2 separate regions of the Homo sapiens genome follow, and region 1 is linked to region 2. Evidence: promoter capture Hi-C in human tissues and cell types (Jung and others, 2019). All regions are on one chromosome and are shown on one strand. Each heading gives the region's core, a stretch centred on a gene start or on the middle of the fragment in contact. The rest is flanking DNA. Distances are from core to core; before and after follow the strand shown. Region 1 overlaps NLRP1 (NLR family pyrin domain containing 1). Region 2 holds the start of BCL6B (BCL6B transcription repressor).

Region 1 (6,811 bases), core at 4,227-6,726, 1.5 Mb after region 2:
ACAAGAACACTTCACACAGACACCTGAGTGGGGTCTCGCCCCATTCCCACTCCCTCCCCCTGCCCACCTACTCAGGAGTTCAACCAGATGAGATGGCTGGAAACCACAGTGGTATCCCTCAGGCCTCAAAACTGTTGTCTTCCTGGAACCAACACTTACTGAATCGTATAACAATATAGAGTCCCAAAACTCAGATTAAGCAAAATGGATATTCAAAATACCTTAGTGGCTGGGTGCAGTGGCTCACACCTGTAATTCCAACACTTTGGGAGGCAGAAACGGGAGGATGACTTGAGCCCAGGAGTCTGAGACAAGCCTGGGCAACATAGTGAGACCCCATCTCCACAAAAAAATATTGAAGAATTAGCCAGGCATGGTGGTGCGCACCTGTAGTTCCAACTACTCAGGAGGCTGAGGTGAGAGGAGCACTTGAGCCTGGAAGGTCAAGGCTACAGTGAGTCATGATCGTGCACTGCACTCCAGCCTGGGTGACAGAGCAAGACTCTGTCTCAAAAAAAAAAAAAATTTAGTAGCTTTTTCTTCCCAGACCCCAAGAGTTACCAAGAGGACTGGGCCGAGTTGTTTGAGGAAGAAACAGAAGGAACCACCACAGCCAGGTGGATAGATTGGTCAAGCTGCATTTTATCTGTAATACGAGCAAGTGGTCCTTATTATCCCCAGGGCTTTATAGACACAAACCCAGTCAATCTGCACAGTGACACCGGGAGGGGGATGCTGTTATCAGCCCCACTTTACAGATGATGCACAGAGAGGGCAAGTAATCTGCTCAGAGTCCCACAGTTGGTAAGAACCCTTGCTGGGAGTCAAAGCCAGGCAGTCCCTATCATTTAGCTGCTCTGCTAGACAACCCTCTAGTGCCCTACCTTCATGTGATGTGGGTCCCACTGTCCCTGCTTGAGTAGGAGAGCCACTGTGCCCCTCAACAGCTCACCTGAGCCTGGAAGGTGCTGACCACACACACTCAGCAGGAAGGGCACGGCCAGGCATCAGGCCACAGGCCCAAGGGCAGCATCTAAAGGAGGGAGAGTCCCCAGGCTCCTGGACAGCAGGAGCAGCAATGTCCCAAGGCAAACACCGGGCATGCGGCTGGGAAAGGAGGAAGGAGCTGACAGGCTTCCATTGGCGGAGCACTTGTCATGCTTTGAGCCATTGTTCTATTTGCTGTCTGTATTCCCCATTGGGCCACAAGCTCTGGAATTGCAGTGCCCATGTCTTTCCTGTTCACAGCTACATCCACAGGGGCTGGCACATTGTCCGTACTCAGTAAGCTTTTGTGTAATAAGCAGATGCAAAGCCCTGGACCCCAGACCCACAGAAACATGCCTACCTCATGATAGCTTTTTCTAAATTTTTCTGGTGCAACCAGCCAAAGGCAGCGTAGGTCTTTCTGCCAGTGAGACTTCCTCCAGTCAACACTCAACCTTCTTCTCCTTCAGACCACAGTCTTCCCCATTGCTTCCCTTCTCTCTCCAATCTATCAGCACAAATATACTGTCAGGTTTGGATGAGGTGACTCTACCACAATCTATGGAAAGGGCAGTATGTGCAAGAAGGGGGGTGACCAGCTCATCTTAACACTGACAGTCCTGCACCCCCAGGAGCCCTCTCGGTCCTGGGCAAGCATGGACAGTTGGTCACCCTAGCAAGAAGGTAAGTTGGAGACACCCAGCACCTTCTGGAATTCAGCAAAAATTCAAGTGGCACCGAGCGTCTGTTAGTGCTCCAGACTGTGGTCAGAATCCTGGGATCTGGTCCTAGGACCATGGCTGGTTGTGTGGCCTTGGAAAAAGCACTTTCCTCCCAGGATTTCAGCTCCCTCAACTGACATGTGAAGACATTCCAGTGCTTTGGAGGTCAGGATGAGACCATCCATTTAGTGCCAGTGATGGCAACGCAAACCAGCATCGCCTCTTGGAGAAGCAACTGGGGAGTGAAGGAGGTCATACCATCTCACACGCTTTCCTCATCCCTTGGTACTGATTGATTTCAAGGCAATAACACAAGGGAAATAGAAGCTTTCTGCAGAATATGTGCATTGCAGGTGCTATTTATCATGGTGAAAAGTTGGAAGCAAACTCAACACTGAAATGAGAAACAGGCTGAATCACAGGGTGGTGCATCCACTAGCAGGGATCATATACTGTGGTAATTAAATGGTCTGACATCCTTGCAGCAAGTTAAACTGTCACAGGAAACAAGAGACAAAGTATCATGGACTACAATAAAAATAGGAAAAGGTGTTGCCGCAGAGAAAGACTGTAATGCAGGCGTCCCATGCTAAGAATAGTTATACTGTGGCCAGGCGCGGTCTGGGAGGCCGAGGCAGGTGGATCACCTAAGGTCAGGAGTTCAAGACCAGCCTGGCCAACATGGTGAAACCCCATCTCTACTAAAAAGCCAGGCGCAGTGGTGCATGCCTGTAGTCCCAGCTACTCGGGAGGCTGAGGCATGAGAATCACTTCAACCCAGGAGGCGGAGGCTGTGGTGAGCCAAGATCACACCACTGTACTCCAGCCTCGGTGACAGAGCTAGACTCCGTGTCAAAAATAAAAAAAGAATAGTTGTATTGTTTGATTGGTAAGATTCATAGGTGAATTCTTCCTCATTTTTTCAGATGATAGATACCACTGTGACTTTATTTTCATCCCAAAAACGCAGTTAAATGACAAAACTTAAGTAATGGTCTTCATGGACCCTTCTGGGATTGACATCTGACTAAGGGCTTTGTCCAGCTTGCTGGATGCCTTGTTGCCCAGAAACCACTTGCATTGCAGCAGTTACCAGGCAATGCAGGGATGGAGCTGGGACCTCTGATCCCTAGGCCAGTGTCTCTCCCATTACCAGTATTCATCCCTCAAGCTCTCTTGTAACTTCAATGTCCTTGCCTGGCGCTGGTCAGAGACTGCAATCAAAGGTACCAATTCTGGCTGATTTAAGCAGAAAAGGGATACATTGAAAGGTTATTGACTAACTCATAGACTTAGCAAAAGGTTATGCAACAAATCTAAGCGGGGGGGAAGATAGTGACCCAATGACTCAGAGAAACCAAGGGCAGAGCCAAGGTCACATCAGGAAAATACGGAGACAGGCGGCAGAAAATACGGAGACAGCTACTGTAGGACCCTCCTGCCCAGGAGCCACTGGGCTCTTTTTCTTTCTTTCTGGTATTTTGTTTTTTGTTTTTTGTTTTTTGTTTTTGAGACAGGGTCTCACTCTGTCACCCAGGCTAGAATGCAGCAGCACACTCATAGCTCATTGCAACCTTGAACTTCTGGGTTCAAGTGATCCGCCCACCTCAGCCTCCTAAGTAGCTGGAATTATGAGTGTGCACCACCACACCTGCCTCTCACTGGACTCTTCACCCAACTGCTACTGCCAGAATTCTCTCTCTCTGCATCTGTTTCACCCCTCTAGACTTGAGGTCCCAGTTAGAGACAACCACTTAGTCAAGTCTTGGTCACACACCTGTGTCCTTGCTGCCAGGGAGTAGTAGCATCCTGAGTGGGGGGCTTGGCTTGCCTCCTGCCAAGACCCACACAGTGCTGGAGGAGGAGGCTCTTCCTAAAAAGAAGAGTTTGAATAGTGAGTGGCCAAACACCTTGGTCACTCTATGTTCCTACTGCCCCTTCCTCCTCCTTGTTCTCTACCTGCCTAGTCAAACCTTCCAGCATCACTCAATGGTCTCTCATAGAGAATCCACACCAGCACAGGCAACTAGAGGTTCTATATCTTTCCCAGCTCCAGGGCCAGGGGCTGGGTTTGCGTATAAGTTTGGCTCAAGGGTGATCCTTGAGCTCCACTTAGGAGTTCAGCACTGCTAAGTGCTCCCACCTGGTGGCACAATTTCCCACAGCCTCCAAAGGCCCCAGGCCTAGAAATGCCCTCTTCCCCATGCTGGGTGTCTTAGCCTGTTCAGGCTGCTATAACAAAATACCATAAACTAGGTAGCTTGTAAATAACAGAAATTTGTTTCTCACAGTTCTGGAGCCTGGTAAGTCCAAGATCAAGGCGCCAGCAGATTTGGTGTGTTGGTGAGGCCCATTCCTCATACATGGAGCCTTCTAGCTGTGTCCTCACAGGGTGGAAGGGACAAGCAAGCTCCCTTGAGTCTCTTTTGTAAGGGCACTAATCCCATTCATGAGAATTCCACCCCCATGACCTAATCACCTCCCATAAAAGCTTCACCTCTTAATACCATCACCTTGGGGGTTAGAATTTCAACATATGAATTGTAGGAGGACACAGACATTCAAGACCATAGCACTGGGCTCCCCCAAGAGGGTACCTGAGCCTAAGCCCTGGGATCCTACAGTGCCAGCAAATCCTGACTCAGTAACAACACTAAATCTAGGCCTCTTGGGCTGGATGCAGCGGCTCACGCCTGTAATCCCAGCACTTTGGGAGGCCGAGGCAGGCGGATCACCTGAGGTCAGGAGTTCAAGACCAACCTGGCCAACATAGTTAAACCCCATCTCTACTAAAAATACAAAAATTAGCTGGGCATGGTGGCAGGCGCCTGTAATCCCAGCTACTCGGGAGGCTGAGGCAGGAGAATCGCTTGAACCCAGGAGGCGGAGGTTGCAGTGAGCCGAGATTGTACCATTGCACTCCAGCCTGGGCGACAAGAGCGAAACTCTGTCTCAACAAAATAAATAAATAAAAATAAACCTGTGCCTCTTCAATCCATTCTTTTACAGGGGGCCATGTGGACACATCCCTGTTCCAAATGGCCCACTTTAAAGAGGAGGGGATGCTCCTGGAGAAGCCAGCCAGGGTGGAGCTGCATCACATAGTTCTGGAAAACCCCAGCTTCTCCCCCTTGGGAGTCCTCCTGAAAATGATCCATAATGCCCTGCGCTTCATTCCCGTCACCTCTGTGGTGTTGCTTTACCACCGCGTCCATCCTGAGGAAGTCACCTTCCACCTCTACCTGATCCCAAGTGACTGCTCCATTCGGAAGGTGACACTAAGAGCCAGAAAGGCTGGGCCACGGTGGGTTGACGGTAAACACAAAATGCAGCCAGAGAGCCCCCTAGAGGGTCTTCAACTGGGACCAAGGATGGGCCTCTTGTACAGGAGAACCTTGAAGTGGGCAAACAATTCGTCCCCTCTCAGTCTTGGACTGGTCTCCTGCCTCTCCAAGGTATCCCCCTGCTAGGTTCATTGATCAATCACTGATCTTTGGACAGTTTCTTACGGCCCCTGTCCAGGAATCAAAGGATTGGAGTCCTCCATGCCTAAAACTGTAGCCTTTCCTCATTCTAACTTCCCTAACAATAACCCTATTCCTATCCTGAAGACATCAAAGACCAAGTGCGGGCTGTCTCTGTAGCAGTGCATGGGGGGAGGGAGGCAGGGGTGATATAGCCCCACTCTGTCCACACAAACACACAGATGCACCATCCCCCCTATTCAAACCACATTCCACGGGGCAGAAGCCTCCCTTAATCATTGTTCCCTATGTTCTGTAGGCCATAGATGATCTAGAAATGAAATTCCAGTTTGTGCGAATCCACAAGCCACCCCCGCTGACCCCACTTTATATGGGCTGTCGTTACACTGTGTCTGGGTCTGGTTCAGGGATGCTGGAAATACTCCCCAAGGTGAGCAGCCCAGTGTCTGCCTCTTCACTGCGAACAGAAGTCCTACCTGGGAATGAATGCCTGTGGGGCAGGTCTCAGGGCTTTCTCAGGGACAGGATAAATCGAGGTTGAACAGAAAGTGAGTGGGATTTAGAGAAAGTGGGAATGCTTCCAAGACTAGGAGAAAGAAAGTTCGGAGGAGGGAGGATCACATGCAGGATGTGAAGGATGATGGGGTTTGACTTGGGGGCACTGGGAAGTGTTTGGGCTATAGGTCATCAATGTCCTTCAGTCCAGACCACCAGGAACAAACCTGTAGTTGAACATACTGGCTTTATTAATCATTGCAGTGGCAGAACACATATTATGGGGAACCATGGGGTGTCTCAGTAAAGGGTGTTTGAAAGAATCTGCTATAGGATTTGGGCCTTGGTTGCATACATTTGAGGAAGATCTAAGGAAACGAAGATTTTCTTTAGATTGGGTGTTGGTTCAGGCCACACGGAGATTTGTGGAAGAACATTTCAGGCAGAAGGAATGTGTGCAGAGGCATAGAGGTGGGAGCAAGCTTGACGCCTCCAGATGACAAAAAAGAGGTCAGTATAGCAAAAGATGAGTCAGATTAGAGGCAGGGTCTTACCAGGCCTCATCTGCCCTGTTGGCCCTGGTATGCACTTTGCACTTTGTTCTAAGTGCAATGGCAAGCTTTTGAGGGTCATAAACAGCTAATACAAGACCTGATTTACAGCCAGGCGCGGTGGCTCACGCCTGTAATCCCAGCATTTTGGGTACCGAGGTGGGCAGATCACTTGAGGTCAGGAGTTCGAGACCAGCCTGGCCAACATGGTGAAACCCTGTCTCTACTAAAAATACAAAAATTAGCTGGGTGTGGTGGTGTATGCCTGTAATGCCAGCTACTCAGGGGGCTGAGGCAGGAGAATCACTTGAACCTGGGAGGCAGAGGTTGCAGTGAGCCGAGAGTGCACCACTGCACTCCAGCCTAGGTGATAGAGCAAGACTCTGTCTCAAAAAAAAAAAAAAAAAAAAAAAAAAGACCTGATTTACTTTCATAAAGATGCCTCTGGCTGCTGGGTGAGAACGAATGATAAGCAGGCAAGAGTGAAAGCAGAGAGACAAGTCAAAAGGCCATTATGGGCCAGGCGCAGTGGGTCACGCCTATAATCCCAGCACTTTGGGAGACCAAGGCG
Region 2 (6,756 bases), core at 1,253-3,752:
TAAAATCTCCTCCTCACTTGCACCACTCTGAATGACAGCCTGCCAGAGAGGCCCTGACAAGCTTTGGGCTGACCATTCAGCTCTGAAAGGGGATAGGCCAGAAATTCTCAAACTTTGCTGCTCATTGGAAGCACTGGGAGAGCTTTAGAAAAATACTGATGACTCGTCCCATGTCCAGATATTTTAATCTATGGAGTGTGACCTGGGCAGTGGGAGTTTAAAAGCTTCCTAGGTGATTCTAATTTGTAATAAAGTTTAGGAACCATTGGAATAGGCCTTTCTGGGAGAGTTTTTGGCACAAACTTGCCTGGAGCAGTCACGGGAGAAAAGCCAAGAAAGAGGGGCTCTTACCCGGTAGTGGACGAGCCCGTTCAGAGGGTGATCCAGAGGTGTCTTGAGCCTGGGATGTGAGGAGGTAGGGGGTACTGGCTGGAGCCCCACATTTGAACTGCACAGTGGCAGCAGTTGGAGAGAGCCTAGGCAGATGGCAAGGAAAGGGTTAAAAGAGATTGTACGGTTGAGGGGTGGGGGTTCTCTCCTGGGAAATTTGGAGCCAAAGGCCTGCCCTCTCAGGGTGAGCCAATATTGTTGACCAATGAGCCACATCCATTGTACTGCCCAAGTGCCACCCTGCTGAATAAACCTGGTCTCTGGCCAGCTCCTTAAGGTGAGCTAGTGTCTCTGAAACCCACCACCTATCTCCCTTCCTCCTGACCATCAAGGCCCAATGACTCTGTCTTCTAGCTGAGGCCAGCTCTGACAAATTCTTGAGGTTCTAGACTCTGTACCTGCTCTGGGGACCAGGAATGGGTCCTTCTTCACTGCTGCTGCTGCTGCTGCTGCTGCTGCTGGAGGCCTCGTCTCCACTGGGGAGCCTGGCTTGGGGGCAAGGTTGACCAGAACTTCTCTCCCCGACCAGGCTCCCTGCTTGGGAGGCCTGAGAGTTTAGCACGATGTACTTGTACTTTTTCCAGTTGCAGGCCTTGGGGTCAGGGCTGGCTGGACTGGGGGGGCCTTGACTGCAGCTTCGAGATTCAGTAGGTGGGTCTGGGTGTCCTTCGGAGCGCCTGGGACTACCTGGTGGAGGGGCCGTTGGGGGTGTTGGGGGTTCTGCTTCCAGGGGGCGCAGGGAGATGCCCAGAGGTTCATAGCTGGGGAAAGTGTGATGAACGTTAGTGCCATTTCCTAAACTCTGCCTTTGCCCTTAACACCTCACCCACAGAGAACGCCGAGCCAGGGTCCCTCACCTGGCCTGGATGAAGCGGTGGCATGCCTGGACCACGTGCTCCATCTGCAAATAGGTGGCGGCCGCTAGGACTGCTGGTGCAGTGGCTGGAGAGAGGCGCAGGCGCGAAGTGTACATGAAGTCCAATAGAGGGGCGAAGCCTCTCGCTTCGGGACCCCCGGGCAGAGAGAGCACGTCCACCCCGACTCCCGCACGGCCCCGGAAAATTGAATAGAAGAAGCCACTAGAGAGAGAGCAGATAAGTCCTTTGGGGGCTGGGGAACCAAGGGAGACATGCGCAGCTTCAGGAAGCCCCGCCCCCTGAAAAAGTCCCGCCTCCTCACTATCACCCCGCCCCCAATTCTGGGACGCTCCGCCTCCTGCTTCTGAAAGACTTGGCTTCGGATTCCCTCTCAACGGCCCTGTGGTCCCACCCCTTTCCCATTTGGCCCCGCCCCAGGCCCCACCCCTCGAACCTGCAGGCGATGAGAACTGCCTTGTGTGCTCTGAGGGGTTGCCCGCCAACCAGCAGCGTGACGTCAGTGAGGATCCCGCGCAGGCGCAGCTCGTTGAGGTTGCCCAGCACGTCGGAGGAGTGGCGAGTGAACTCGCGGACGTAGCCCAGCGCTCCCTCCGGGGCGGCGGGGGAACCCATAGCGACACAGGCCTGTAGAGGCCGTGGAAAGTGCTCTGGATCCAGGCAGTCCTAAGACGCCTTCCCTCCTCTGTTTGCCTTTTCCTTCCGAGGTGCAACTAGAGCCAGGACTTCCAGCCCCTAGCCCCGGCACACGCAGCCTCCCTCCTAATTCTTCTTGTTCATTCTGCCCTCTACGACACCCTCGCTCCCTTGCCTCTTCCAGATCCCACAGCGCTTGGAGCCAGTTGAAGGTTCCACACCGCGGCGTCGTTGGCGAGCGTGGGGAATCCCGCGCCCATCGCCCTGGGTTCGACCCCCAGTGCCCCTCCAGCACCGCCACTCCCCTCTGCGCGCCTGTGTCTCAGGTGTCCAACCCTGCCTCGAGATCTCACGGCCTGCCGTCCACACACCTCCAAATCCCAGCCGAGGCTCCCTTCCCCGAACTACGGAATTCTGCGACTCCTATCTAGTCCCCAATCCCTAGTTTAGCCCAATTTCTGGGACTCAGGCTCGCTGATGGCAAGCTCCACACAAGCTCCTACCCTCTTGGGGGACCCAGGAGTCTGGCTCCCTCAGTCTCTTGTTCTTACCCCCGTCCTGCAGGGGCCGCGGCTTCTCTTCTTAAGGGGGGCGGGGTCTCTCTCCCCTCTTGGCCTCGGCTCCTTTATCTGGCCGGGATGTCGGGGGCGGGGGTGGAGGTGGGGTGAACGCCTGGGTCTGTATCCTTCCTTCCTCCCTCGCTCTCCAGATGGCGAGTCCAGGGCGGGGTCTCCGTCTCGAGGGCGGGACCTCAGAAACAAGGGGTGGTCGTAACGTAGGGGGTCTTGGGTCACTGCAAGTGGACACGAGGACGGGGATATTGGAATTGGGGAGGAGGTTAGGGATATCGAGGTTGGCAATACGGGAGTCTGAGTCGTCGGAAGGCCTGGGCCAGTGAAAATTGGTGTGTTGGCTTTTGGGAGGGTTTGCCAGGAGCCAACCTTTGCTGCAGGACAAAGTGCATACGGCAACCCCCTCTCCCTCTCTTGTACTGTGTTAAGGGAGAAAAGGGGGAGCCCAACGAGACAGCAGGTTTGGGCAGACGACAGTGGGCTCCCGTAGGGTCTCAGACGGGGAGGGTGTGGTGTGAATGACAGGCTACTCTACCCGGGCCTACAAAAAGGGGGGCTCTGGCCGGGCGGGGTACGGAGAGGGCGGATATGATTTCTAGTTGGTTTCCTTCCATTGTCCTGCGACCGGACGGCTCCGCCAGCTGCTTCCCCTCGAGGAGGTGGGGAAAGCCCCGAGGTGGGGGTGGAGGGGCGAGAGACGCTCGGGAGACCTAGGCGTCCGGCCTCTCTCGCTCCCGACTCTCTTCTGGGTCCTTGTAGGGATCCAGAGAGATGGACTCCCGCCCAAAGCCCGCTTGCTTTCCCCCAATCCCAGCTCACGAGGGCCTCGGGCACCCGCCCGTCGGCTACGCTTGGAGGCTGGCGGGACGCCGGGGTCCAGCGCGGCAAGTAGGCAAGGCTCGGCAATGTGCGGCTCCTTCCACGAGGGGGCGGCCGAGCACTGGCCTCGCCTCGCCCCTCGTCTCCACCCGGCCTGGGGTGCGCTCAGACCCGGGCGCAGGATCCATTTGGTCTGGGCGGCTGAAACCTTTAGCCTCCTCCCCTTTGCGCGGGTTTATTTTGCACCTCTGTCTCCTAGGAGGGGACTAGGGCTGGGCGGAGGGAGCTAGAGTTAGGAGACCGAGGGGACTTTCCCCTCAGGCTGGGGTTCCTACCCGAGGTGAGAAATCGCGGGCTTTAGGAGCCAGGGGAATGGGTGGGACAAGAAGCGGGACCTGAGCCTGGGAACTCCGGGTTTTCTTTTCGAATTAAGCTAGACACTGCTACCCAGATGTCTTTGGAGGTGACTTTTAATTGAACATTAAAATTGGGTGGGGTAAACGAGAAGGGAAAACAAGGAGGAGGGAGAGAGGGCAGGAGGGGGCTTAACCACCCTAATTTGAAGTCCCTGATCTGAGAGATGGGCATGGATCACACCCTCATATTTTGTTTCGGGAGACATTGCGGGCAGGCAAGGCAAAGCTCATTTGGAGAAGGGGTGCTAGAGCTGAATCCAGCTGCAAGGCAGAAGCTCCCCGGATTTGGGCTGGGGAGAGTGTACAGTTGGCCAGGAATGGCCGACCATGGTCCACGGGGCTGGATATCAGGCCCGGGGCCCTCCCCTTCAGACCGGAGTGTGTCTTTATTTGAATGCATGAAAGAACAGCTGAGAAACCGGGAACTGGGAAATTCAGGACGATGAGGTGGCTTTGACATGTGAGGGTTATTTAGGTCTCTGCCCAGCTTGGAGATGAGAATTAGACTAGGGGCTCTCCCTTTGGCATCAGGATGGAGTATTATTTGATCAGTTGTGGGGTGTCTGTTTATTATGGGGTGTTGATTTGATTGTGAGCACCGGTGGCTGCATTCAGCCTTTGAGGCCTATATGGTAAGTTTCAGGTATGGGGCTGACTTGGAAGTTACATTAGTTCTGGGGGTTCTGACACCCACAATTTGGAGATTGTGCTCACCTGTGTCATCTTGGACTATCAGCAGAACCAAAGTACTCATGCTGATTTGGGGGTGCAGTCTATTTTGGGGTGCCATCTAAGTTTCAAGGCTCAGATTAGATTTGGGGAATAAGTTCAATTTGGAGTTTTAAAAATTAGTTTGAGGTGGAACATTATAGGAAGCTGGGAGCAAGTTCGAAGCTTTCTGTGATTGGGGGTCCTGGGAGGGGGGAGCAAACTTTTATATTTGAGTCTTGTGGACACTCACGTTCCACAAAGTGGAAAGACGTGGGGTATTCCTGTGTATCCATGGATACCCAAGAAGCTTTTTCCCCAGGGGAGAAACAAGGTGAGGGCCGCGAGGACAGGAGACTAAAGTTCTGGGGTGTTCTTATTTTGGGGGTGTTTTGTCACTCTGGCTGCTTTTGGTGAAGCTAAGGGATAATCATAAGGTGAGACTGATTTGGGAGTTCACTTAATTTGGACCCTGGTTTGGGATGTCTTTTGCTTATAGTGCCCTCTCACCCCAGATTCTAGAAGTTTCTTTAGTGAACCCCCAAATAAGCCCAGGATTTGAAGGGAGAAACTTGGAAAGGGTGTGGTATCTCCTTTTATTATTATGTGGCTTGAGGGAGAAGAGAGGGAGAAAAGGCGGTTTCAGACTCTGAATCCCAATTTCTTAAGGGAGCACCCCTTAGTTTGGGGGAAGTTGGAGAAAAATGGGGTGTCCCTTGGCCAAGTGGGCACCCCTGACCAGGGCAGTGCTGTTGGAACTGTGGCAAGGAGGGGTGCTGGTGGGGTACAAGGAGGTGATTCTTGCACCCTGATTTTCTAGGATGAGCCCCAAACAGAAAGCAGACAGAGGACTGGGAGTGTGGGTGAGATGGCGGGGAGGGGTTCCCCACGGCAGCCGGGGCTACAGGGTAAGCCAGGCCAGCTCTTCGCGCCTGGGTCCCTTCTCTCTTCGGCCCTCCTCCCCTCTCTCCCTCCCACCGCCCACCCCCCCAACCCAAGAAAAAAAACTGCCTGTGCAACAGCAATGGCAGATTCCAATCCTCCAGGCTTTCCTAAACCACCACGGTGACCAGCCAGGGGGGAGGGGAAGGGAGGAACGGGCTTTCCTGCTTCCTTAAGACAGGGGCAATGAGCTTGACCTCCTGGCCCCTAGCCCTTTGAGGAGTGATTCCCCCCGGTCTGGAAGCCAGGTGTCCTGGACCCTAGCCCCCGAGCGGTGGGGGGGGCCTGGAGAGACGGGGAGGAGGAAGGAGGGAGTGACTTCCAAAATTGGCATCGGGACAGAGCAGGGCTGGCGGGAGGCAGGCAAAAGACGGAATTTTCCTGAAAAAACGGGGGTATCTGAGGACCCCAAATTTGGGGAGCTAGTCCAGGACCGTCCTCCCAACATCCTAGATTTTTTTGGGATTTTTTGGGGACCCCGGGACCCCTCTAGATGGGGTGAGGAATGTAGTGTTGGGTGAATCTGACTGGGGCATTGCAGCTGCCTCTCCCGCCGAGTTGGAGACGGATGGGCTGGGACGGGTTTTGGGGGGGTGTCCCCAATTCTGACTGGGAGTGGAGGAACCCCTCCTGAGATCTCTTGTGGGGGTGCCCCCTCCCCAGGGCACTCCCCAGTCCCTGAGCCAGCCGAGAGGAAGGAGGCCAGCGATGCGACTGGGGCGGCTCCTTTCTCCTGCACCCCAAATGTGAGGGATGCACCCTAAATTTTGCTCTTTTCAAAATAGGGGACCAGGATCTCAGGGGAGAGTAGCTGAGGTAAGTGGGGAGGGAAGTGTCCTCTGTTTTCAGGAGAGACGTGGCGGTTGGGGGGGAGGTTTGGAGGTGCGTGCTGGGGTGGGGTTGGCTTTGTCAGTCTTGGAATTGGGGGGATGATTGGAGAGGCTTTCTCTTATACCCCTAAACTGCAGCCCCCCAGACGGAAACCAAAGGCTGAGACCAGAGAGCCCCCCAACATCCCCAGCCGTTAGGATAGTGTTTAATTTCTCTTTCACCCCCCACAAAGGCTCTGCCGAGGTAGGAGCTGGGGGCAACTGTTAGTTTGGGGGCTATGGAGGGTGGTGGAGGAGCAGGAGGCCTTGGCAAGATTTGATGGAGGGCAGATAGGGGTGTCCGGGAGGGGTCTGGCATCTTCGGGGGCCTAAAAAGACTGCTTACATACACCACCTTGGATCTTTCAGATTGCTAAGAGTTTTGGGGGGTGTGTCGGAAGAGGGGGTGGTAAAAGATGCGATGGGATATAGGAAGATAACTTCTGGATTTTAGGGGGTCATATTTTGATTTGCAAAAGGAGTTTTGGCCCTTGGATTTTGCTTTCTGAGGGGTGTTTTTAAAAAATCA

Evidence for each region. The method cuts DNA at HindIII sites, captures the fragments that hold promoters and counts their contacts. A contact is called where the count stands out against the background at its distance.
Region 1: a contact is called between a fragment that was not itself captured here and the fragment with the promoter of BCL6B in region 2, in 1 of the 25 tissues and cell types used here (mesenchymal stem cells).

The regions. Positions count from the first base shown.
Region 1 is chr17:5,519,694-5,526,504 of GRCh38, reverse strand. It overlaps NLRP1 (NLR family pyrin domain containing 1), which reads left to right. Exons shown (of 17, transcript NM_033004.4): 13 at 4,719-4,981; 14 at 5,493-5,624. All of the region lies in intron 1 of LOC124903902 (a long non-coding RNA gene), which reads right to left. Among named protein-coding and RNA genes, the nearest start is that of MIS12, 37 kb to the right of the region's middle. The HindIII fragment of the contact is 4,716 bases long and covers 3,119-6,811 here.
Region 2 is chr17:7,018,796-7,025,551 of GRCh38, reverse strand. It overlaps BCL6B (BCL6B transcription repressor), which reads right to left and starts at 2,502. Exons shown (of 9, transcript NM_181844.4): 1 at 2,453-2,502; 2 at 1,702-1,892; 3 at 1,248-1,469; 4 at 789-1,151; 5 at 352-476. The coding sequence starts at 1,880. It overlaps MIR497HG (mir-497-195 cluster host gene), which reads left to right and starts at 5,898. Exons shown (of 3, transcript NR_038310.1): 1 at 5,898-6,174. RefSeq lists a silencer at 3,409-3,548. The HindIII fragment of the contact is 11,810 bases long and covers 1-6,715 here.